Regions from separate parts of the Homo sapiens genome. Here region 1 is linked to region 2. Evidence: promoter capture Hi-C in human tissues and cell types (Jung and others, 2019). All regions are on one chromosome and are shown on one strand. Each heading gives the region's core, a stretch centred on a gene start or on the middle of the fragment in contact. The rest is flanking DNA. Distances are from core to core; before and after follow the strand shown. Region 1 overlaps RNF157 (ring finger protein 157). Region 2 holds the start of EVPL (envoplakin).

Evidence for each region. The method cuts DNA at HindIII sites, captures the fragments that hold promoters and counts their contacts. A contact is called where the count stands out against the background at its distance.
Region 1: a contact is called between a fragment that was not itself captured here and the fragment with the promoter of EVPL in region 2, in 1 of the 25 tissues and cell types used here (psoas muscle).

What each region holds. Positions count from the first base shown.
Region 1 is chr17:76,209,248-76,215,198 of GRCh38, reverse strand. It overlaps RNF157 (ring finger protein 157), which reads left to right. Exons shown (of 19, transcript NM_052916.3): 2 at 2,717-2,835. Among named protein-coding and RNA genes, the nearest start is that of RNF157, 28 kb to the left of the region's middle. The HindIII fragment of the contact is 4,899 bases long and covers 1,356-5,951 here.
Region 2 is chr17:76,025,282-76,030,881 of GRCh38, reverse strand. It overlaps EVPL (envoplakin), which reads left to right and starts at 3,576. Exons shown (of 22, transcript NM_001988.4): 1 at 3,576-3,781. The coding sequence starts at 3,684. RefSeq lists an enhancer at 3,107-3,994. The HindIII fragment of the contact is 23,388 bases long and covers 1-5,600 here.

The sequences.
Region 1 (5,951 bases), core at 2,556-5,055, 180 kb before region 2:
GTTTTAGGATTACAGGCAAGATCCATCACACCCTGCCTGCTACAAATCTTCAACAAAAATTGCAACTGATTTAGGGAGTTTGTGTATATCCTCAATGTATTATACACAAGCAAGCCTTTTGCCACTTAATAAGTTCCTTGTGTTAATTTCAGAAATGGGGTATATGAGAGTGTTGATAAAGGTATATTATGGGATGTGTCCTTTACTTTGGACAGCTTACCTTCATGGGAGAATTAGATAATAGAAATTAGAGGTAAGCGGCATTCGTTTAATCATCAAACTTAAAATGTATTCCCAGATGTAATTTTCAGCATAACCTAAGCCTCCTTTGGTGACTTCTCAGTTCCATCATATCCTGTCACAGTTCCTTGGTTTGTCCGGATGAGGCTGATGGGAATTTTGGCCCCTGACTGCTGATTTCATTTGGTTATTATATTGCACTGAAAATATTTCTGCCTCCTGGCTGATTAAGAAGGGGCAAAGGGGCCCTGCCATGACTGATGTCCCAGCAGTTCTGGCCATTAGCACTGTTAATGAATTTGAGGTGGAGAGGGTATGTGTGTAGCCTTCTTTCATAGCATTAAATTGTCCCCTTATTTTACACCATAGTCTGTGTAGTAATTGGTAGAGAAAGCCAGGGATAACTGTATTATCTAAATTCGTATTTTCCTGTGAAACAATAATGTTTGCAGCAAGTTAAAGTGTGAAGAACCTTCATCATAGAAGGTTATGGAGGTATAGCAGTAGTGGTGGGTGGGTACTGAGACTTCTGTGTGTAGGTATAAGCTGGCTTATGAAAATCTAGGCAAAGAAATGTGTGCGTCTGCGGATATAGGAAAAAAACTCAGTTTCTCCTATACACTCACAACACAAGCAGCACAGAAAACTTCTGTGACCTCTGGTCAGCAAAATGTGTGGGGATTCTCTCCACCAGCAACCACTCAGTTCTGCAGAGGACACCAGCTGGGTGTCCTCCAATTCATTTCACTTCTGATACTACTTGAAGATAGTGTCCCATCCCACAGGTTGAGGGTGCAATCTCACAAGACTGCCCCCCACTTCTGATGCCCATCGCAAGCCCCAGGTTGTTTTACCTGTGCTTCCAACTAACCAACCAGAAAGCAGGGTTCCCATAACCCCCTCCTTGGGTGTGATTAACTTGCTAGAGGGACTCACAGAACTAGAGAAACACATTTACGAGTTTATTATCAAGGATATTACAAAGGATACAGAGAGAGATACATAGGGCGAGGTTATGTGAGAAGGGGCACAGAGCTTCTATGCCGTCTCTGGGCATGTTACCCTCCAGAAACCTGTAAGTGTTCCCCTGTTTGGAAGCTTTCTGAACCAGTCCTTTGGGTATTTATAGAAGCTTCATTACATAGCATGGTTGATTACATCATTGGACATTGATGATCAACTTAACTTTCATCCCCTCTCCCTTCCTCAGTGGTTGGGGGATGGGCTGAAAGTCCCCACCCTCTAATCCTGCCTTTTCTTTCCAGTGACCAGCCGCCATCCTGAGGCTACCTAGGGGCTGCCAGGCAGTGGTTAATTCATTAGCATATGTAAAGACAAAAAAAAAAGACATCACTTTGGATATTCCAAGCATTTTTTTTTTTTTTTTTTGAGATGGAGTTTTGCTCTGTCACCTAGGCTGGAGTGTAGTGGTGTGATCTTGGCTTACTGCAACCTCTGCCTCCCGGGTTCGAGAGATTCTCCTGCCTCAGCCTCCCAAGTACCTGGGACTTCAGGCGCATGCCACCATGCCTGGCTAATTTTTGTATTTTTAGTAGAGATGGGGTTTCACCGTGTTGGCCAGGCTGGTCTCTAACTCCTGACCTCAAGTGATCCGCCCTCCTCAGCCTCCCAAAGTGCTGGGATTACAGGCATGAGCCACCATGCCGGCCTGGATATTCCAAGGATTTTAAGAGTTGCATTCCAGGAAATAGGGTTGAAGATCAAACATATATTTTACAATATCACAGTGTATGTATATGCCGATACCTGTAGCTGAGATTCTTCAATACATGGAATAACTACTTCAAGTTTAAAGGCAAAAGTCAGGAACCAAAAAATATATATGATCATTAATGTGCATTGTAGAACCTTTTGGTCTTTTGGCTGGAGGTATTTTAAACAGATCATTAGAAGAATTCAGTTAAGAATGTTAAAAGGAAAACAGTGATCTAGTCTACGTTTGGTATCTGGGGTTTTCCCTGCTATGATTTTACTTATTTTGTGCCATTGTCCCAAATCAGGAAAAGAAAACACTCTGGGATTAGAAATTGCTCTAATTATTCATTCAGAGGGTTAACTTTTTTGTTTTTGTTTTTTTGAAACAGAGTCTCACTCTGTCGCCCAGACTGGAGTGTAGTGCTAGGATCTCGGCTCACTGCACTTCTGTTTCCTGGGTTCAAGCCATCCTCCTGCCTCAGCTTCCTGAGTAGCTGGGACTACAGGCATGTGCCACCACACCCGGCTAATTTTTACATTTTTAGTAGAGACAGGGTTTTGCCATGTTGGCCAGGCTGGTCTCGAACTCCTTATCTCAGGCGATCTGTCTGCCTCAGCCTCCCAAAGTGCTGGGATTACAGGTGTGAGCCACCACGCACAGCCCAAAAGGTTAACATTTTAAAAATCAGCTTTTTTTTTTTACTAGATTTAGGTTGACTGTTTTCTGCTTGTTTGATTTTTTTTGTTTGTTCCTCTCTAGGAAGCTATTTTGCCAGCCACTTCATTATGGGAGGAGAGAAGTTTGACTCAACTCATCCTGAAGGTTACCTGTTTGGAGAGAACAGCGATCTGAACTTTCTGGGGAACAGACCAGTTGTGGTATGGCTGTAATCAGTTTACTCCTACTTGGAGCTTAAGTGGCCAATTCAAAAAATGTAACAAAAATAAGTTTGCAGTTGCTTGTTCAGCAGTTTGTAGCTTGGTCTGAGTTGAGAGAGATGCACTAGAAGACAAACTGCAGCCTCCTTGGTTGTATGGGATCTCTTGTTGCTAGAGGACTGGAAGAGCTCCTGGAGTCTTGTGAGGGAGAGGATGAGTCTCACAAATTAAGCTAGGACAGATCTCTCCCTGTCACCTCTTTAGGCAACCCTTTTCCAAGGGCTTACCTTTTTTTTTTTTCTTCATGGCACTTAACACCAACCTTTTATTGATTTGTCTCTTTCTCTGCTTATTGTCTGCCTCCTCCTCTAGAACGTAAGTTTCATAAGGCAAGGACTGTTTTTACTGTAGTATCCCAAACCTAGAACAAAGCCTGGCACGTAATGTTAAGCCCTTAATAAATGATTGTTGAATGAATGACTGAAAATTTTTCTCTTGATATATGAGTTGATATGAGAATACATTTCTCTCACTTGTTCCTTCTCATAAATTTCTATTGCGCACCTTCTCTGCATCATGCAGGAGGCTTTGTAATAATAGCCGCCAGGTGGCTATTGAGTGGCTACCGTGTGCTAGGAAGGTCCTAGAGACCCCTGTTCCATATGAAGACCACTTGACTTAGGACTTATCACTCTATTTTATAAGCGAGAGAACTGAGGTGTTCAGAGAGATGAATAATGACAGAAGCTAGGAAGTGCACACTATGTTCTAAGCACTGTTCTAAGGGTTTTATATACATTTTTCTCAAAGTCATGTAACTAGGTTTGCCTGGTCACAGATCAGTAATCTTTCCAGTGCTCCTCACTGCCTTGAAATATTCTGCAAGTTTGGTGGAGCAGACAAAACACAGAAAACAGGAAATGTTTAATTAACAATAAAGATCAGAAGTGATTGAATGTGGTGGGAATTGAGAGTGGGAGAAGACAATGGCAAGGGCAGGTTGCTTCAGTGTTACACTGGGAAGAGGTGCAGGGAGTTGAACTGGCCTTTGAAGAATGGTGGGTTGGATGAGGCCTTTCCAGGAGTAGAGCACGGCACAGGCCTAAGAGCATTCAAGTTGTTGAATTGGCAAACATTTACTGAGCAACTACTGCGTGTCAGGTACTGTGATAGGCGCTGTGGATACAGAGCTGAAATGAGCATGGTTTGTTCTTCCCTGGAACAAATAAGGAAACCAGTCTGGCCCGATTGGAAAGGTGGGCCAGGCACAGTGGCCAACACCTGTAATCCCAGCACTTTGGGAGGCCGAGGTGGACAGATCACCTGAGGTTGGGAGCTCAAGACCAGCCTGGCCAACATGGTGAAACCCTATCTCTATTAAAAACACAAAAATTAGCCCGGGGTGGTGGCACACCCCTATAATCCCAGCTGCTCCAGAGACTGAAGCAGGAGAATCGCTTGAACCCGGGAAGTGGAGGTTGCAGTGAGCTGAGGTTGCCCCAGTGCGCTCCAGCCTAGGGGATAGAATGAGACTCTGTTTCAAAAAAAAGAGAAAGGTAGGTGGCGGCTGTGTTACCTTGATAGGTTTTTTACTCTCTCCTGTAGACCGTGAGGAATATTTAAGACTTGTAGGTAGGTGAGTGACCTGGAGAAATTGCTTTTTTAGGAAGATTGATCTGATGATGGTCTTCCATCTTGACCTTTAACATAAAAATAATTATTTTTTTGGTTTTCATTGTTCTCTTTCTTTCTTTCTTTCTTTTTTTTTTTTTTTTGGACGGAGTCTGGCTCTGTCGCCCAGGCTGGAGTACAGTGGCACGATCTTGGCTCACTGAAAGCTCTGCCTCCCGGGTTCACGCCATTCTCCTGCCTCAGCCTCCTGAGTAGCTGGGACTACAGGCACCCGCCACTACACCCGGCTAATTTTTTGTATTTTTAGTAGAGACGGGGTTTCACTGTGTTAGCCAGGATGGTCTCGATCTGACCTCGTGATCCGCCCACCTTGGCCTCCCAAAGTGCTGGGATTACAGGCATGAGCCACTGCGCCCGGCGGGTTCTCTTCCTTTCTATCTGGAGTGACCCCTCTGCTAATTTTTCGTCCAGTAGTACACTTTTCAAAATACCAAATCTTGTCTGCTTCAAGTTAAGTTATGTCAAGTAATACTTATCAGATGTCTACTCTTTGATTTTGTTACTACTGCCTTGGTAATTAGAGTAGACAGATCTTTCTTTTTTTCTGATAGAGCCAGATAAAAATGTTGCCTCACTCACAGGGAGTCAGCTTGTGCTTTGAAAGTAGCCCTTTCTGCTGGGCACGGTGACTCATGTCTGTAATCCCAGCACTCTGGGAGGCCGAGGCGGGCGGATCACAAGGTCAAGAGATCGAGACCATCCTGACCAATGTGGTGAAACCCCATCTCTACTAAAAATACAAAAATTAGCTGGGCGTGGTGGTGTGAGCCTGTAGTCCCAGCTACTCAGGAGGCTGAGGCAGGAGAATCGCTTGAACCCAGGAGGCGGAGGTTGCAGTAAGCCAAGATCATTCCACTGCACTCCAGCCTGGGCGACAGAGTGAGACTCCGTCTCAAAAAAACAAAAACAAAAATGAAAGTAGCCGTTTCTTCTATTAATAACATGGACTTGATGTTTGCATCTGTTTCTGTCTTTTTCCTTTCATCTGATGTAAAGATAGTTTATATATTTTTAAAAAAATTTTGGCCTTTTCAGTCCATAAAGATGATATAAAAATAAGTAAATCAGGGATGTCCAATCTTTTGGGTTCCCTGGGCCACATTGGAAGAAGAAGAATTGTCACATTGGGCCACACACGGAATACACTAGCAGTAACGATAGCTGATGAGCTAAAAAAGAAAAAAAAAAACGCAAAAAAATCTTACAATGTTTTAAGAAAGTTTACGAGTTTCTGTTGGGCCACATTAAAAGCCATCTACCCCTGGGCCGCAGGTTGGACAAGCTTGAAGTAAATGCTGCTTTAGGTTCAACTTGAAGTTTATGCTGGCTGGCAGACTTTTCCTAAGTTTGCCTATGCCGACCTATGAATGACTGAGCTCTTTCTGAAATGCTAGGTAGCAGCCTTAACCTTAAAGTTGAGGCTT
Region 2 (5,600 bases), core at 2,327-4,826:
ATCCTATCTAACTTCCAGGCCAGAGCTGTCTGAAGGAATCCTGATGAGCCCCAAATGCAAGCTTCATTTGTCACTTTAAATTTATCAGTAGCCACATTTTAAAGAGTAAAAAGCAACAGGTCAAAATTTAAAATATGCCTGTAACCCCGGATCATGAGGTCAGGAGTTCGAGATCAGCCTGACCAACATGGTGAAACCTCATCTCTACTAAAAATACAAAAATTAGCCGGGTGTGGTGGCGCGCGCCTGTAGTCCCAGCTACTCGGGAGGCTGAAGTAGGAGAATCACTTGAACCTGGGAGGTGGAGGTTGCAGTGGGCCGAGATTGTGCCACTGCACTCCAGCCTGGGCGACAGAGCAAGACTCTGTCTCAAAAAGAAAAAAACTAAAACTAAAAATACATTTCATTTAATTCAACATATCCAAAATATTTCAATATGTAATCAATAGAAAAATTAATGAGATGCTTTACATTCTTTTTTTCTTTTTTTTTTTTTTTTTTTAGATCGAGTTTCGCTCTGTCTCCTATGCTGGAGTGCAGTGGCGCGATCTCGGCTCACTGCAATCTCCGCCTCCAAGATTCAAGTGATTCTTCTGCCTCAGCCTCCCGAGTAGCTGGGATTACAGGCACGCGCCACTACGCCCAGCTAATTTTTGTATTTTTAGTAGAGACGAGGTTTCACCATGTTGGTCAGGCTGGTCTTGAACTCCTGACCTCGTGATCCGCCCACCTTGGCCCCCCAAAGTGCTGGGATTACAGGCATGAGCCACCGCAGCTGGTCGTTTTACATTCTTTTTCCATAGTACGTCTTTGAAATCTGGTGTGAATTTTGCACATATAACACATCTCACTTCGGTCCGGGCACCTTCAAATGCGCTACAGCCACACACAGCAGGAGTTGTGGTTGCAGAAACGGACGCTGAGGGTCTTGACCCAGGCAGTCAGCCCCATCTTGACCTTTTAGATAAAGGGCTCCTTTCTCTCCAAAGGGTGAGGCCAGAGGTGAAGCACAAAGACAGCCATGCCTCACTCTGTGTCCCTGTCCTTTCTCCTGTTTTCTTCTGGGGCCAGGGTTGCTGCCATCTGACAGGAGCATCCCACGTGAGAGGACGCCTCAGGACTCAGGGTGTTCCTGCCTGCCGCCTGGCAGCCCTTATCAGAGGAGCGGGGCCTGATTTGATCCAGCATGAGAAGATCACGCCAGGAAGTCAGCTCTTGTTTTTCTTGCAGTAAATCAGTTAGCCCTTAATCTCCGGGGCGTGTGAGGGCCCCCTGCAGTGCTCATTTCCTTCCTGGAGGGCTTCTGAAGAGGGGAGGAAGCTCGAGTGTTCCAGACCTCAGACTCGCTGCCCTCCGCCCAGGGCACCTCCCCCTGCACAGCTCAGGGGCCTCACCCGGCTGCTCTCTGTCTGGAGTCTGGACACCTCTCCCCAGGGCCCCACTTCCAATGACTGCCACCTCCCAGGGAGGGGCCAAGCTCAAAGGTGAAGCAGGCGGGCTCAGTGGCTGATGCCTGTAATCCCAGCACTTTGGGAGGCTGAGGTGGGCGAATCACCTGAGGTCAGGAGTTCGAGACCAGCCTGGCCAACGTGGTGAAACCCTGTCTCTACTAAAAATACAAAAAATTAGTCGCGCGTGGTGGCGGGCGCCTGTAATCCCAGCTACTCGGGAGGCTGAGACAGGAGAATCACTTGAACCTGGGAGGCAGGGGTTGCAGTGAGCCGAGATGGCGCCACTGCACTCCAGCCTGGGAGACAGAGCGAGACTCAGTCTCAAAAAAAAAAGAAAGAAAAGAAAAAGGCGAGTCAGGGAGGCCAGGGGTGAGGCTGGCGTTGGCCCCCGTAGTCATTCACACAAACGGCTCCTTTCTGAAGACAGCTGATTGCAGGTGTGCAATGAGTGGCTAGAAGACAAGTGTCACCAGGAATAAAGTGGGAGCAGGCTGGGGCAGAGGCTGAGTGGCCAGTCATCCCTGGTGCCATCTCACTCAAGACACGGGCTGGGAGCCAAGGACACTGGAGACCTCTTTGTTTCCTCATTGCTGTCAGGGGCTGCCACTGCCCTCCCCACCCCTACTGCCCCTGTCAGCTCCTCCACCTCTAGGAATGGGGGTGTCCTGCATCCCCTCTCCACGGCCGAGTTCAGGGACTTCCCATGAAATTCAGCCAAAAAGGGCGCAGGACTTTTCTATCCCATGGGGGCCTGAGGCCAGTATCAGGCGTCGGTCCCTGGTCTCCCCCGTCTGCTGGGATCTTTCTCTCCTGCCAGGCTGTGCTTTGTCCTCAGCGAGGCCTGCCAGGATGTCCAGGTGATGTCACCCAGTCAGTCTGTTCCATCCCCTGGCTCCCCCTCAAGCCCTCCTTCCACTAAAACCACGGGGGTTTCAGGAATGACCTGGAAAGCGACGCCACCCCGCAGAAGGGGCCTGTTACGCTGGGCCAGTGAAATGAGCGCCTGGAAAGGGGGGTGCCATCGCCTCTTTCTTGAAGACGCTCAGGGCCACCACAGAAGGAAAAGGCAGCAGCCCTGGTACCCAGTGTGAGGAAAAGACCAATAAGCTGGCATCACTGTCTGCCACTCAATCTGACTTCATAAAAGCCACCAGGGGCCATTTCTGGGTGGGGGAAGAGGCAGGTAGGAAAAGCCAAGTGCATCAGGCTCCCGGGCCTCAGCCAGAGCCCAGGCTTACTGGCGCCTGAAGCCAGCCCTGGTGCTGCTGCACTGTGCACACTTTATAAAATGGGGCCAGGCGTGGTGGCTCATGCCTGTGATCCCAGCATTTTGGGAGGCCGAGGCGGGTGGATCACTTGAGGTCAGGAGTTCGAGACCAGCCTGGCCAACATGGTGAAGCCCCTTCTCTGCTAAAAATACAAAAATTTTCTGGGCGTGGTGACGGGCACCTGTAATCCCAGCTACTCAGGAGGCTGAGGCAGGAGAATCGCTTGAACCCGGGAGGTAGAGGTTGCAGTGAGCCGAGATCATGCCATTGCACTCCAGCCTGGGTGACAGAGCGAGACTTTGTCTCTTAAAAAAAAAAAAAATGGACCTTGTGCCAGTTGTCTGGAGTGAACGTCCCCTGACTGCCCCATCATGTCAGTGGAGAACAGAGAGTCAGGCCCTGGGCTGGCAGGACACCCCCTCCTCTCCTGGGGGATTGAGAGCTGTGGGTGGGGGCCTGCCTGGCAGCAGGTCCTCTGAGCTGGCTGGAGGTGTTTATTAATCCTGAGCTCCGGGGCTGGGGCCTCTCCGCTGAGCCTGCACCTGCATGTGCACGTCTGTCTCCAGCCCTGTCTGTCCTGGCCCAACTCCTTCCCTATCTGGGTGTGATCGCCGCTGCGCTCCCCTAGGCATGTGGGTGTAACAAGTCCAAACCTTCTGTGGGAGTCGGGCAGGCTCGGCCCCGCCCTCAGGGCTGTGCCCTTTCCTCCCAGACTGGTTGTGCAGGAGGAGGCATGAGTGTGGCCGTTGTGGGTGCATGCGCGTCAGGCCTGGGACCCGGCCGCCCGCCCGCTGCCTCACCTGCAAGGAGGGGCCTCCCAGAAACTCCCTTCCCCAGTGCCCAGCCGCCCCACCTCGCCAGACTTAGCTGACCAGCCAGTGAGGACGCCCGCTGCCTCCCACCTGCCCTCCTGCCGTCTTTCGCCAGCCAAGCCCAGCCTGAGCCAGCACTTGCCTTTACGACCATGTTCAAGGGGCTGAGCAAAGGCTCCCAGGGGAAGGGGTCCCCCAAGGGCTCCCCCGCCAAGGGGTCCCCCAAAGGCTCCCCCAGCAGGCACAGCCGGTAAGTGGGACTGGGGGATGGGGAGCCGGGGAACTGGGGTGGGGGTGGTGCCAGGCCCAGGTCCTTGAGCCACCTGGCGGCGGCGGCGGCCCAGAGCCCAGGACCAGCCCCGTGCTGGCATTTGGTGTCCTGAGGCCAAAGGGCCCAGGGATGGACTCTCTCCCTGCCTTGGGAGCCGCAGGCCCAGGCCGAACTTCAGCCCTGGCAGGAGGCAGGGGATGACCTGGGGCTCCCTACATCCTCTAAGGGGGCCTGAGGGCCACGGATTGAGGCCGCTTCGCGGGAGAAGTGCTGGACAGGAGCCTGCACGGAGGCCCTCCTCTGCCAGAGGCTGGGAGACAGGAGAGCCTGGGAGACAGGAGAGCCTGGGAGACAGGAGAGCCTGGCTGCCTGACTGCAGCTCTGCCCCAAGGCTCTACTTGGCTGGGATGACCCCTGGAGCCTGGGTACAGGGCATGAGGACTGAGGGGACGGGGTGGGATCCCTGGGGTAGGGATGCAGGGGCTGTGCTGCCTCCTGCCTAAGCCACAGCCCTCCCCAGAGTTCTCACCCAGGGCCTTGTTGTATTGAAGAGTTAGGGGTTCATGGCCGGGCGCCGTGGCTCACGCCTATAATCCCCGAACTTCAGGAGGCCAATGCGGGAGGATTCCTTGAGCCCAGGAGCTCGAGACCAGCCTGGACAACATAGGGAGATCTTGTTTCTGTAAAAAAATAAAAATAAAAAATAGCCAGGCATGGTGGCTCGTGCCTATTGCTTGAGCCCAGGAGTTTGAGGCTGCAGTGAGCCATGATCACACCCCTGCGCTCCCGCCTGGGTGACAGACTGAGACTCTGTCTTAAAAAAAAAAAAAAAAAAAATCCTGGCGCAATACCTCACGCCTGCAATCCTACAACTTTGGGAGGCCGAGGCGGGTAGATCACTTGAGCCCGGGAGTTCGAGACCAGCCTGGGCAACATGATGAAATCCCGTCTCTACAAAAAATATACAAAAATTATCTGGATGTAGTGGCGCATGCCTGTAGTCAGAGCTACTTGGGAGGCTGAGGTGAGAGGATCACTTGAGCCCGGGAAGTCGAGGCTGCAGTGAGCCGTGATCACTCCACTGCCCTCTAGCCTGGGTGACAGAGCAAGACCCTGTCTGTTAAAACAAAATAGAGCTGGGGCTTCCTTTTCCAGTGGGTGTGGTGCAGGGGGCACTGGGCCTCCCTTGGACCACCCGGCTCTCTGGAGCCCAGCCTCAGCAATCTGTGGATGGATTGGGCGGTGTTCTTCCCACTCACTGGCTTCAGCTCGTCTGCAGAGGAGGCAGCAGCCCGCCTGGGTCCAGGGTGTCGAGATGACCTCAGGGATGAAAGGCTGGTGTGGGAGTGGGGGTGCCCATTACCCCGATAGGGATCAAGGCACCAACAGACACCGAGGCTGGGTGTCTGGGCGGACGGGAAAGACAGTGGTTAAGACTCTCAGCTAACACTCTCGCTGAGTGACCTGTCCTCCCTGGGGCACCTGAGCCCCACCCAGGGTGGAGTGTGCAGCTCCCGGTGGGAGCAGCCATCCCAGGAGGCGGGACCTGAGGAGGGGCGCCCAGGGCCCAGCACCTGCAGCTCCCACTGTCCAGGCAGGCTCCCCAGCAGTGCGCTCCTGGCCTGGGGCAGCTCCGTCCTCAGGGCCCTGTTGGCTCTCCCCTCACGTGCGATCCACTCGTTTGACATGAACTTACTGAGCACTTACTGTATGCCAGGACTGTTCTAGGCACTGGAGATGTCACTGTAGACAGAACCAACAAGCCCCTGCCTTCAAGGCACTAGCCCTCTAATGGGAT